5 separate regions of the Homo sapiens genome follow, and regions 1, 2, 3 and 4 are each linked to region 5. Evidence: promoter capture Hi-C in 16 types of primary human blood cells and fetal thymus (Javierre and others, 2016). All regions are on one chromosome and are shown on one strand. The core of a region is centred on a gene start or on the middle of the fragment in contact, and the rest is flanking DNA. Distances in the headings are between cores, read along the strand shown.

Region 1 (2,700 bases), core at 107-2,606, 120 kb before region 5:
AGGTGGAGGTGCTGAGGCAGGAGGATCACTTGAGCCTAGGATGTCAAGGCTACAATGAGTCGTGAATGCGCCACTGCACTGCAGCCTGGACAACAAAGCAAGACTCTGTCTCAAAATAATAATAATAGGCCAGGCACAGTGGCTCACGCCTGTAATTCCAGCACTTTGGGAGGCCGAGGTGGGCGGATCATGAGGTCAGGAGATCAAGACCACGGTGAAACCCCGTCTCTACTAAAAATACAAAAAAAAAGTAGCCGGGCACGGTGGCAGGTGCTGTAGTCCCAGCTACTCAGGAGACTGAGGCCAGAGAATGGCGTGAACCCAGAAGGCGGAGCTTGCAGCGAGCCGAGATCGCGCCACTGCACTCCACTCCAACCTGGGGGTCAGAGCAAGACTCTGTCTCAAAATAATAATAATAATAATAATAATAATAATAATAATAATAATAATAATGATGATGAAACTAACCATCACATGTCATTGCCTTAACGTTCTAATGCTCCAGCAATATAAACCACTATTGCCTTTATACCATCAGTAGAAATGTAATGCCACATACTGTTTTTTCCACATAGTGAAAAAAGCAAACATCTTAGTATTGTATGAAAATAATTAAGACCCTCATGTACTTCATGAAATGGACTCAGATACCTGGGGGTAGACAGACCACATTTTGATAACCTCTACAGTAAAGAAAACTGCTTTACTTTGTTTGTTTTGTTTTTTGAGACAAGGTCTCACTCTGTGGACCAGGCTGGGTGACTTAGTGCAGCCTGGAACTCTTGGGCTCAAGCCACCTTCCCACTTTAGCCTTTAGAGTAGCTGGAACTAGAGGCGTGAGCTACCACACCCAGCCTGCTTTACTTTCTTTAAGACAATGTTTCACAAATTTCGCCAACCAGGAACATTTGATCAAATGACATTGCACAAGAAGTTTTAGGAAGATAAGCTTTGGGAAACTGCTGAGGCTGCTCCTTTGCCAAATAGCATACATTTTCCCACCAAAGCCAGTTTGTTTTGTTTGTTTTTTGAGACAGAGTCTCACTCTATTACCCAGGCTGGAGTGCAGTGGCATGATCTCAGTGCACTGCAACTTCCGTCTCCTGGGTTCAAGTGATTTGTCTACCTCAGCCTCCCAGGTAGCTGGGATTACAGGTGTGTGCCACCTCGCCCAGATAATCTTTGTATTTTAGTAGAGATGGGGTTTTGCCATGTTGGCCAGGCTGGTCTCCAACTCCTGACCTCAGGTGATCTGCCTGCCTTGGCCTCCCCAAGTGCTGAGATTACAAGCGTGAGCCACTGCGCCTGGCCAAAAAGACAGTTCTTAATAAGGATAACCTTTTTTTTTTTTTGAGACAGAGTAGTTTCACTCCTGTCACCCAGGCTGGAGTGCAATGGCACATTCTCAGCTAACTGCAACCTCCGATCCCCAGGTTCAAGCGATTCTCTTGCCTCAGCCTCCTGAGTAGCTGGGATTACAGGCTCGCCCCACCATGCCCAGCTGTTTTTTGTATTTTTAGTAGAGACAGGGTTTCTTCATGTTGGCTGGGCTGGTCTCGAATGCCTGACCTCAGGTGATCCACCCGCCTCAACCTCCCAAAGTGTTGGGATTACAGGCATGAACCACTGGGCCCGGCCAGGACAACCTTTTTAATGAGCTGCACACCTTTCCTGTCAAAAAGAATAATCCATCCCCACTCCCTTCTTTTTCTTCAGGGAGTGAATAACACTCCCTGCCTAACACTTAATCAAGTTAAAGCTTGCTTTTTCAGTAATCATTCACTGAGGCCCCGACTCTAAGATTACAGATCTGAGCGTGAGATGCTCACAATCTAACAGGAGATACAAATATGATAGGATTACTAGACAATGTGACACAGGTTACAACAAAGAGGTCAGGCCTCTAACTGAGCCTGAGAATAGGCACCTTGGAGGAGGATTATTGTGGTGAGTCATGAGACATTTCCACAGTCTGCTTCATAAAAAGGAAGAGAAAAAGAAGTCTTTTCAGGGTCAGGCATGGTGGCTCACTCCTGTAATCCCAGCACTTTGGGAGGCCAAGGCAGGAGGATCACCTGAGTCCAGGAGCTTGAGACGAGCCTGGGCAACATAGTGAAAACTTGTCTCTACAGAAAATAAACGAAATTAGCTGGGTGTGTGGTGCATGCCTGTAGTCCTAGTTATTTGAGAGGCTGAAGTGGGAGGATTGCTTGAGCCCAGGAGTTTGAGGTTGCAGTGATGTGTGATCGTGCCACTGCATTCCAACATGGGTGACATAGTGAGAACTTGTCTCAAAAAAAAAAAAAGTATTTTCAATGAGAGAAGCATGTGTGTGTTACACAAGTAAGTCATGATGCCTGCTCCATCCACAGTCCCTTGCAAAAGAACCGTTTTAGTGACACAAAGGACATCCCCAGCTGGGACCACTTGACCCTATACTGCTGTCACTGCTGTCTGGACAAACAATAGGATGCAGTCCCAAGGACAGCCAATCCTTTGACTGACCACAGTGACCCTGATACAAAAAATATCAGCCGGTCTAAGCACATTTACTCTTTGTAGAATTGGAACTGGAGACTTTGGAAAGAGGAGGAGAGTTAACTATGAAAGGTTGGCTGGGCTTAGTGGCTCACACCTGTAATCTCAGCAATTTGGGAGGCCGAGGTGGGTGGATCACCTGAGGTCAAGAGTTCCAGACCA
Region 2 (2,700 bases), core at 199-2,698, 68 kb after region 5:
GTAGTTACCGTTTTTGGTACTCTTCATTATTTATGTATGGATTCATATTACTATGTGGTATCATTTTTGTTTGCCTGAAGGATGTTAACATTTCTTGAAATGCAGGTGTACTGGTAATAATCAGCTTTTGTATGTCTGAAAAAAATGTTTATTTTGCCTTTATTTTTGAAAGATATTTTCTCTGGGTATAGAATTCTAGGTGGACAGTTTGTTTTTGTTTTCTTTCCATACTTTAAAGATGCTCCACTCTTTTCTTCCTTACATTGTTTCCAAGGAGACATTTGCTGTCATTTATCTTTGTTCTTTTGTAGTTAATATGTCTTTTTTCTCTGTTTTTAAGATTTTCCCTTTATCAAATTGTTTGATTGAAGAAATTTCTCTCTTGCCCAAATTGTTTTGAGCAATTTGATGAGAGCATGCATTGGTGTTGATTTCTTCATGTTTCTTATGCTTGGAGTTTGTTGAGTGTTATCTCAGACTTTGTCATTTTCATCTCTACAAGTTTGGTTTAGGTCTTTTTAATATCTTCCGTGTCTGTCCTTAATTGTTTTGAACATATGGAATACAAATATAATTCTTTTAATATCCTCTTCTGCCAACTCTAATAATCTATGTCATTTTAGGGTCAGTTTTAATCAGTTTTTTTTCTCTGTCCTTTGTGTGCGTGATAATCTTTGATTGGATTCCAGACATTGTGAATTTTATGTTGGGTGATGAAGATATATGTATACCTAGAGATATTCTTAAGCTTTGCTTTGGGATTCAGTTTAATAAGTTACAAACAGTTTGAACTTTCTGAAATTGCTTTTAAGATATTCTAGGCAGGACAAAGAGCAGTGTTTAGTCCTGGGCTAAATACTCATCACTGATAAGGTAAGAGCCTTTTGGGTGTTTTGCCCAATGCCCTTTGAATTGTAAGGCTTTTTACTCTGACTGGTGGGAATAAGCACTGATTCTGTTCCTATGTGACAAACAAGTATTGTTTCCCCTAATCCTTTTGGGTGTTTCTTGCCTCAGCCCTGGGTATTTTCCTCACACATTTGCATATCTGTACTATGCTGAATAGGAGGAGGGTTCCTCTGCACATCTCCACAGTTGTCTCTTTAGGCAGATCTTTCTTGTAGGGTACTCTGTCCTGTTAACTCTAGCTACCTTTTTCTCTCCAGACTCTAAGCCTTATCTCCTTAAGTCAGAACATCTGGCAGACTCAGCCTCAGTTCCCCTTCGTGCACTGCAGACTGGAAACTCTCAAGGTAGTTAGCTGTGGTAGTCAGAGGGCTGGCCTCATTTGTTTACCATGTCTCAGGGATCATTGTCCTTTGTTGGCTCTGTCCTGTGTGTCCTGAATATGATTATCATATGCTTTGTGTAGTTTTTTTTTTTTTTATTGTTTCAGGCTGCCAGATAAATCCATCTTGAATAGAAACATGCATTAATTTTTCAACATAACATTTCTCTTCATTTGACAGATTATTTTGTTACTGTTTATTGTCATATTCTTCTTCCCCAAGAATGTAACCTCTTTAAAAGCATCGCTTTGTCTGTTTTTATTACTGTTGAGTCTCTGTCACCTAGTAGAGCACAGCACATAATCAGTAAATATTGGTGAATAAAGTATAAACAACTGAGTAAATAAGGCCACTACTTTCTAGATTTGAATGCGTGATCACAAGACCAGAGTTAAGAGGAAACCCCTAAAATGTTGTGAAGGAATAATGTTAAGATTTTAAACTGATTAGGTAAATAGAATGAAGGAAAGAAATGTAAAGATTTTGGTATTGCTCAGATTTCTACCTTAGGAACTCTTCTCATTCAATATACTCTCCCTAGGCATTCTCATTTATTCACAAGGTCTCAGTTCACCATGCTGTTGACTCCCAAATCTCTATTTATAGTCTCAATCTCTCTTCTGGAAATTAGATGCCTACTCGACAGCTCTGCTTAGATGTATCATAGGTATTAATTCAGCAGAAACAAAATAAATTTATAATTTTTTCTACCAAAACTTTTCTGTGTTCTTTATCAAAGAGAGGGGTACTATCACCAAGCTAGATTGCCAAGTGCCTGTTTGGTATTTAAGTGTCCCTGCTTTTCCTCCCTTGTCTAATAAATGACAAATGTTATTGATCTTCCTTTTTGAAAAGCTTTTGAACCCATTCATTTCTTTCTAACCTACACCCTTATCTTAGTTTAGACCATGTTCATCTCCTGTCTTCATCGCAGTAGGATCTTCCATACTGTCTTCTTTCCCATTAAAATTCTTTATACTGTAGTCAGAGGAATTTTTTTTAAAAATTGAAGAGCAAAGAGAGAGAAGGTGAGGCTTAGAGTGTTCAAGTGATTTACTCAAGATGACAGAATTCAGGAGTGGTGAAGCTGCATGACTACTGCTGAGTGCTGAAAGCCCATGCTCTGTTCACTGTACCATGCTGCCACCCATACTGTTAATGAGTACTTGAGTAGTTCACAGAGCATTTTCATGTTTTTCTTCTTGAATAACTTTTTAAAATAGAGATTATAATTACCCTTGTCAGATGATAAAATTGAAACTCAGGGAGGTTAAGCAACTTGCCCAAGGATAAGAAGCTGTTAAGTGGTGACGTTAGCACTAGAAATTGGTTTCTGGCTCCAAAAGCCGTACTTTTAATCCTTAATGCCACCTTGGAATTTGTTAATGGTTGCAGATACACAGCCTACCTT
Region 3 (2,700 bases), core at 160-2,659, 92 kb before region 5:
AGAAAATGACAAGCTTTACATAACATTCTTTACGTTCTTTTTAAATTTTTCATCTAAGGTAAAAAGATACAGCTGCTTTAAGCCAGAATAAATGACTGAAACAGACTACATATTGATATTCTCTCTCTGTTTATGAATACACATACAGGCATACCTTGGAAAAATTGTGGATTTGGTTCAGGACCACAGCAGTAAGGCAAATATTGAGTCACATAAATGTTTTGGTTTCCCAGTGCATATTAAAGTTATGTTTACACTATACTGTAGTCTATTGAGTGTGCAATAGCCTTATGTCTAAAAAAATCAACATATCTTAATTTGAAAACACTTTATTGCTAAAAAATGCTAACAATCATGTAAGCCTCCAGCAAGTAGTAATCTTTTTGCTGGTGGGGTCTTGTCTTGATGATGGAGCTGACTCATCAGGGTAGTGGTTGCTGAAGGTTGAAGTGGCTGTGGGAATTTCTTAAAATAAGACAACAATGAGGTTTGCCACATTGATAGACTCTTCCTTTCCCAAAAGATTTCTCTATAGCATGAGATGCTGTTTGATAGCATTTTACTCACAATTGAACTTTTCAGAACTGGAGTCAATCCTCTCAAACCTTGTCACTGCTTTATTTATGTAACACTCTAAATGTTTTGTTGTTATTTCAACAATATTTACAGCATCATAACCAGGAGTAGATTTCATCCAAGAAACCACATTCTTTTCTCATCTTTAAGAAGCAACTCATCATCTGTTTTATCACAAGATTGCAGCAATTCAGTTGCATATTCAGGCTCCACTTCTAATTTTAGTTCTCTTGCTATTTGTACCACATCTGCAGTGACTTCCTCCACTAAAGTCTTGAACTCCTGAAAGTCATTCATAAGGGTTGGAATCAACTTATTCTAAACTCCTGTTAATGTTGATATTTTTGTTTGTTTGTTAATTTTTTTTTTTTTAGACGGAGTCTTGCTCTGTCACCCAGGCTGGACTGCAATGGTGCGATCTTGGCTCACGGCAACCTCTGCCTCCCAGGTTCAAGCGATTCTCCTGCCTTAGCCTCCTGAGTAGCTGGGATTACAGGTGCCCACCACCACGCCCAGCTAATTTTTGTATTTTCAGTAGAGACAGGGTTTCACCATATTGATCAGGCTGGTCTTAAACTCCTGACCTCAAGCAATCCACCCACCTTGGCCTCCCAAAGTGCTGGGATTACAAGCATGAGCCACCACGCCCGGCCTTTTTGTTTGTTTTTTTTGAGACAGAGTCTCGTTCTGCTGCCCTGTCTGGAGTGCGATAGCATGATCTTGGCTCATTGCAACCTCCAACTCCTGGGTTCAAGCAATTCTCCTGCCTCAGCCTCCTAAGTAGCTGGGATTACAGATTCCCCCCACCACACCCAGCTAATTTTTGTATTTGTGGTAGAGACGGGGTTTCACCATGTTGGCCAGGCTGGTCTTGAACTCCTGATCTCAAGTGATCCACCTGCCTCCGGCCTCCCAAAGTGCTGGGATTACAGGCATGAGCTACCGTGCCCAGCCAATGTTGGTAGAGACACAGTCTAACTATGTTGCCCAGGCTGATCTCAAACCTCTAGCCTCTAGCAATTCTTCTGCCTTGGCCTCCCAAAGTGTTGAGATTATAGGTGTGAGCCACTATGCCTGGCCATATTTCTTGAATAATAAGACTTGAAAGTCAAAATTACGCCTTGATGCATGTGCTGCAGAAAGATGTGTTAGCAGGCACGAAAACATTAATTTCCTTGTACATGTCCATCGGAGCTACTGGGTGACTAGGTGGACTGTGAATGAGCAGTAACATTTTGAAAGGAATCTTCTTTTTTTGAGTGTTAGGTCTCAGTAGTGGGCTTAAAATATTCAGTATACTATGCTATAAATAGATGTGCTGTCATCCATTGATTGTAAATGAGCACTGGCTTCTACTTAAAGTTACCAGCTGCATTATCCCCTAACAAGACAGTCCGTCCCTTGAAGCCAGGCAGTGAGGTGATTTCTCCTATCTCTAGCTATGAAAATTTTAGATGGTATCTTCTTCCAGCAGAAAGCTGTTTCATCTACATTGAAAATCTGTTGTTTAGTATAACCACCTTCACTGAAGATAAATGTCTTAGCTAGATCTTCTGGATAACTTGCTGCAGCTTCTCCATCAGTACTTGCTGCTTCACCTTGCACCTTTATGTTATGAAGGTGGCTTCTTTCCTTAAACCTCATGAACCAACCTCTGTTAGCTCCAGCCTTTTCTTCTTCCGCTTCCTCACCCCTCTCAGCCTTCACAGAATTGAAGAAAGTTAGGACTTTGCTCTGGATTAGGCTTTGGCTTAGAGGAATGTTGTGGCTGGTTTGATCTTCCAGCCAGGCCACTAAAACCTCCATATCAGTAACAAGACTGGTTTTTTTTTTTTTTTTCAGATGGCGTCTCACTCTGTTGCCCAGGCTGGAGTGCAGTGGTGCCATCTCAGCTCACTGCAACCTCCGCCTCTCAGGTTCAAGCGATTCTCCTGCCTCAGCCTGCCGAGTAGCTGGGATTACAGGTGCGTGCCACCACACGTGGCTAAATTTTGTATTTTTAGTAGAGACAGGTTTTGCCATGTTGGCCAGGTGCGTGCCACCACGCCTGGCCTGGCTGTTTCAGTTTCTTATCATTCACGTGTTCCCTTGCAGTAGCACTTTAAATTTCTTTAAGTACTTTTA
Region 4 (2,700 bases), core at 6-2,505, 88 kb after region 5:
GAGTTCCATAAATATTGATTATTAGAAATGTTATTAATTAGGATATATAGAGACATTTAGGATTCATACATTGAAAATGAAGTAGTAAAATAGATGGATTAGAGGTAAAAGTTAGGGCTTTAACCTGAGTCCACAGTGCCTTAGCCAAAATTCCAAAATCCTGACCAGCCCTGAGGTCATTTGGCTATAAAACCTGGTCTGACCCATGGTGAGGTTATAGTCTCTTTATCTGATTCAGCGTCCCCTGGAGGTGCCATGTAATATACTGCCTATGCACACATCTGGCCCCACGAGGCTGGAGAGGAGATTGTGCACCTGTATAGATGTCTATACTTAAGCTGTATACTAGAAGGGTACGTTTCGTTTTGAGTAGGTCTGGAGTAGATGCTTGGTCATACCAGTGATTTATTAATGAATCATAGCATTGCAATAATTAAAATGATAAACATAGCTAACTGTCCCATTGCCCCTCAATTAAAAAAAAAAGTCTCCTTGGTGGAAGATATTTTGTGGGAATGCAGATGGAACGATGACATATATGACAACATTTTCTCTCTTTACTGTCTGTTTTCTGCTAGTCTGTGCCCAGAGCTAAACCATTAGAATCCGACTTGCTAGGAAAGCATGCACTATTTTGCTCTTTTACCAGTATAGACAACTATATGATACCTGTAACAATCTTACCATCATGAGCTTCCTTCTGCCTCTGTGCTTCACAATGTTCTCATAGCCTTGGCTCCATGCCAGTTCCACCTTAACAATGCTCCTTCTATTTCCCAGTGTTTCTCTATCCCTCTGTATAATCCTCCCTAAATAATCTGTGATATTCCAAATGGCTTTCCTTACTGCATAGTATTCACTCAACCGTGTTCTTTCAAGCCACTTGTTAAACCTGTTTTCTTTTTCATATTTTATGGCTTTGAAGAATTCTCAAGTTCCTCTGCTATAAAGTTTCCTTACAGTGGGAGTGATGGGCTTCTGGTCTGGCATGTGTAATTGTTAGTAATAATTTCTCCTCTTCTTTCCAAAAGAGATAGCAAGGGCTCCTTGATGTGAAGGATCTGTTGACTCATATTTGGGCTAATGGATCAATAAGGTTGCCACAATGGAGAAGGGACTTTGTATAAACATTCAGGCCTAAAAGAATAGCCACACTGCATTGAGTTTCATATTTGGGAACTCAGATCAAAAATTATCTTCAGAGAAAGAATACCTCCTAGTTGGAACTAAATCTGAGATCCATTGAGTTCACATTTTAGTATCTCTGAAATTGAGATTTGTTCTCTTTCTTTATAACATAAAATAATGATATGTCTTACTCTTATAATTGATAGTGCTTTAGACTAGAGGAAGAACAATGTAAGTGTTTTTAAAACCAAACCATATTATTTGCATTTTCAGTACAATCATTTTAATTTTCTTAATAAAGTTTCTTAGAGTCTATAATAACCTAAATAATAACCTATAATTTAAAAACTATATTAAAAAAATAAGTATAATATGTTATCTACTCTGTCTTTTGCTTAGTCATTTCCCCTATCATAGAATATTTGGCTTTTCTTCTGGAAATTCCTATCATCAGTATTGCTGAGGCGAACATCTTTGTATTTCTGTTTATCCTGAGAGGCAGTGCAGCAGAGTGATTAAGCACATAGAACCTGGAGTCAGACTGCCTGGGTTTGAGTCTTGCCTTTTTAGTTTCATCACTAACTAGTTTTGAAACCTTGGGCAACAATTGAAACTGTGCTGCAGTTGCTGTATCTCTAACTAGAGAGAATAGTATACTTAACTACCTCAGGGTTGTAAGGATTAAATGAGTTAATATATTACTCAAATTTCTCAATGTTATTGCATGTTAATACATTAGATATAGTAGTTCCTGGCATGTGGTAAGTGCTAAATAAGTAAATTACTGTTATTTGGGGTTATTTCTTTAGGATAGATTCCTAAAATGGGATTATCTTCTCAAAGTATATAAACATTTTCTGACACTCTGGATAAATACTGCCATATTTCTTTCCAATGAGATTATACTAATTTATACTCCTAGAATAGACTGAGTATATATTAATCCTCCTTTGTCAATTTTTAGCATTTTTATTTTTTAATTTTTAACTAGTAACATTTTTTTGGAGACAGGCCTTGCTCTGTCACTAGGCTGCAGTGCAGTGGCATGATCATAGTTCATGCAGCCTTCAACTCCTGGGGGCAAACGATCCTCCTGCCTCAGCCTCCGGAATAGCTAGGACTACAGGAGTGCACCACCACACCTGGCTAATTTTTAAAAATGTGTGTAGAGTTGGGGGTCTCCCTATGTTGCCTAGGCTGATCTTGAGATCCTGGCCGTAAGTGATCCTCTGGACTTTGCCCCCCAAAATATTGGGATTCCAGGTGTGAGCCATTGGGCCTGGCTTAGCATTTTTTAAAAGTAAGTCTTCGTTAATCTCACAGATAAAAATGGTAGTTTATTCTAATATTTATTTCTTTGGTTATTAGTATGAGTTGAATTGAATATTTTCTATGTGTTAGCCATTTGTATTTCCTTATTTGTTCATGTCTGCCTATTTATCTGTTGCTTACTGGTTTTAAATGGTTCCTTATGTATTTGGATACGCTCAATAGATAATAAGTCATGCTTTTGTAATATAGTTATTTGGATAAGTTAATTAAGCAGTAATTTATACTTAAAAAGTAGTTTTT
Region 5 (2,700 bases), core at 4-2,503:
TGTAGAGACAGAGGTCTCACTTTGTTGCCCAGGCTGGTCTCAAACTCCTGGCCTCAAGTGATTAAATTTTTAAAATAATGTATTTTTTCTTTATTTTTCCAATTTATATAAAAATGGAAATATTTTTTATTATTCATTAACGTTGGGTAACACTTTATATAAACTTTCCCTTTGTGTTATATGGAAGTCTAAATTTACAGAATACTTTAAAACCCCACGGCAACACAAAACCCACATTTGTCCGTGTTCCTTCCATAATTTGAAAACTTTGCCTTTTTCCCTTACACTGACTTGAAGCCTGGCAGCTTGGGCCTAATTTACAAGGCACTAAGTAAGTACTCTCTTAAAAAACAGAGAGTGAGGATGCCCTGTTTCACAACTTAATTCCAAAAAGCCAAGTCAGACGAAATCGACCCACTTTCCTGCTAAGGGTTTGTCCCAAGAGGCGAGCTCTTCTCTGTCCGCTCCAGCCAAGCTGGCCGATTGCCCCTGAGCACTGGACACAACCTTGGTGTCCCGGTTTCGGGTCAGGGTTACTTTCCAATTGTTAGGCACGACTTTGTGCGTGCGTGCGAGACTGTGGACTCGGAGGTGCGCATTTGGGGCGTAGCCGAGCCATTTAAACCAGCGAATCCGCGTTCACCTTGTCCTTCCACCTCTGCCCTATCTCGGCAGATGCTCCACGGATTTGCACGAACTCCCGAGTCTTGACCTCCCTCCCCTCTCCGGGCTGCCGGGACAACTCGGGGCGGCCACTCTTGCCAGGAGGCGTAAGTAAGGATGAAGTTGGAAAAACTGAACTAGGTCTAGGGCACGCTCTGCAACACAGTCGGGGAGACGCTTCAGAGGGCCGGAGAGGGAGGCAAGTTGCCACGGCGCGAAGGGGGCGGGCCGGCTTGGGCCGCTCGCATTTCCTGTGACAGGGGCTGCCCCAGCCTCTCCTTCTCCCGCGGCGGCGGGACCATTTCCTGAATCGCTGAAGCGGAGGGAGGACTAGGGCGCGACTCTACCATTAGCGCAAAGGGCCAGGGGGTGCCCATAAGGAGAGCTCGGGGGATGCAGGGACGGTCAAGAAAGTTCGGCCAGGGCTAGGGGTCCCCCAGAGTGCGCAGAAGCGAGACATCCCTGGCCAGAGTGCCTCCTTCAGGCCTGCCCCGCCGCCCGTCCGCTTGGCCCCGGAGCATCCCCCCTCCCCGCATTCCCGAGGTGGTTCAGCCCGAGAGGCCGGCGTCTCTCCCCCAGTTTGCCGTTCACCCGGAGCGCTCGGGACTTGCCGATAGTGGTGACGGCGGCAACATGTCTGTGGCTTTCGCGGCCCCGAGGCAGCGAGGCAAGGGGGAGATCACTCCCGCTGCGATTCAGAAGGTGAAACCGCGCGGGGTTGCGGATGCCAGGCCCTTACCGCCTCTGGGAGAGACAGACGCGGGGGGAAGGGCCGGGCCCGGAGTCGACCGGGCCGAGGCGGAGGCGGGCCTGCTGGGAATCAGCAGTGTTTGGGAACACGGACTGCTGGCTGTGCCTGAGTGGGTGGCGGAAGAGGGTGAACCGGTTTTTCTCGGAGTCTTTCACGCATTTACGCGTTTTTCTACAGACACAAAAGCCCAAACAGCCGCCGCCTGATTTCTCTAGGGATGGGGCGGCGTTCGGGCTGCGGGGCGCGTGCGCCCGGCGGCGGCCGCTCAGGGAAGGGCGTGTGTCGGACCGGCGGCCCCGCGCGTTGCTCCGGAGTTACTTTGGCGTCGCCCCGCCCCGCGTGCCGCGGCTGCTTCGTGCGGACCCCACCGCGGGTCGCGGCAGGCAGAGGGGAAGTCGGTGCGCTGGTCGCCGCCCTGCAAACTCAGCCGAGTTTGGGAGCTCGCAGGAGGACTTGGGGAACGCTGGAGGGAACCTTAGTATAGAGTTTGAGGAGCGGGCAAGGAAGGTCCCCATGGACTCTGGGGTTGTCCCCAGAGCCTCTTCTTCCCTTCTGCATCGCCGCCTATTCATTTATTCTGCAGCAAATATTTATTGAGCGCCTATTTTAGGCGCTGAGGCTACTGTGGTGAGTCATGGTCCTTGCCTTCCTGGAGCTTACAGTCTAATGGTGGAGACTGTCGTGACCAGTTAATGTAAGTCGTGATAAATACACAGGGAGCTGCCTCCTTTTTAAAGGATAGAGCTGCTGCAGTCGCTGCTGTGTTACTGCCAGTCGGAACACAAAGGTTCTTTATTGTCCTCTACCCCTTGTTGCCTGCAAGCAAGGCAGCATTCTAAATTTTACTGACCTAGACTTTCAGAAGTTGCTGCTGTATTTAGCAGTTTACTTTAAATATTTTTGTTTTGTTTTATGCTGTGTAGCAAAGATCAAAATAGAAAAAAAGGTCAAGTTTTAGTACCACTCAGACCACGTAGATTATGCTAATCGGTTTCTGTTTACTGTCAGGTTCTTCGTAGTGTGGCTTTTGACATTTGCCCAACTGTTGCTTTATTTTATGAACAAACGGGCTTGGCAGTGCCTGGAAATGCAGTGCTTTCATATAGTGCTCTGAGTTAAGTCTGCAGCCTGGCAAACAGCTCCAAGTACGCACTCACGCAAAACTGCGTTTCTGGAGGGCTCACCTTTTTTATTTTTGTACACAGGAAAAGTCCAGAGTTTTTCTTTTTTTTTTATAGTTTCTGTTACATAAGTCTGAAGATATTTATCATGGATAATGATTAATT

Evidence for each region. The method cuts DNA at HindIII sites, captures the fragments that hold promoters and counts their contacts. A CHiCAGO score of 5 or more calls a contact.
Region 1: a fragment that was not itself captured here is called in contact with the fragment with the promoter of SS18 in region 5 in 7 of 17 cell types (activated CD4 T cells, naive CD4 T cells, non-activated CD4 T cells and 4 more); the score reaches 15.4 in activated CD4 T cells.
Region 2: a contact is called between a fragment that was not itself captured here and the fragment with the promoter of SS18 in region 5, in 7 of 17 cell types (non-activated CD4 T cells, activated CD4 T cells, total CD8 T cells and 4 more). The highest score is 7.8, in non-activated CD4 T cells.
Region 3: a contact is called between a fragment that was not itself captured here and the fragment with the promoter of SS18 in region 5, in 8 of 17 cell types (non-activated CD4 T cells, activated CD4 T cells, naive CD8 T cells and 5 more). The highest score is 15.9, in non-activated CD4 T cells.
Region 4: a fragment that was not itself captured here is called in contact with the fragment with the promoter of SS18 in region 5 in 2 of 17 cell types (non-activated CD4 T cells and activated CD4 T cells); the score reaches 5.8 in non-activated CD4 T cells.

What each region holds. Positions count from the first base shown.
Region 1 is chr18:26,207,354-26,210,053 of GRCh38, reverse strand. No RefSeq gene overlaps it. Among named protein-coding and RNA genes, the nearest start is that of TAF4B, 18 kb to the left of the region's middle. RefSeq lists a silencer at 2,373-2,549. The HindIII fragment of the contact is 810 bases long and covers 952-1,761 here.
Region 2 is chr18:26,021,124-26,023,823 of GRCh38, reverse strand. All of the region lies in intron 10 of SS18 (SS18 subunit of BAF chromatin remodeling complex), which reads left to right. Among named protein-coding and RNA genes, the nearest start is that of SS18, 68 kb to the left of the region's middle. The HindIII fragment of the contact is 1,396 bases long and covers 751-2,146 here.
Region 3 is chr18:26,181,639-26,184,338 of GRCh38, reverse strand. The region is part of intron 6 of PSMA8 (proteasome 20S subunit alpha 8); the gene reads right to left. Among named protein-coding and RNA genes, the nearest start is that of TAF4B, 43 kb to the left of the region's middle. The HindIII fragment of the contact is 2,788 bases long and covers 16-2,700 here.
Region 4 is chr18:26,001,614-26,004,313 of GRCh38, reverse strand. No RefSeq gene overlaps it. Among named protein-coding and RNA genes, the nearest start is that of SS18, 88 kb to the left of the region's middle. RefSeq lists an enhancer at 330-429. The HindIII fragment of the contact is 3,044 bases long and covers 1-2,700 here.
Region 5 is chr18:26,089,166-26,091,865 of GRCh38, reverse strand. It overlaps SS18 (SS18 subunit of BAF chromatin remodeling complex), which reads left to right and starts at 1,253. Exons shown (of 11, transcript NM_001007559.3): 1 at 1,253-1,365. The coding sequence starts at 1,297. RefSeq lists an enhancer at 799-918. The HindIII fragment of the contact is 4,894 bases long and covers 1-2,700 here.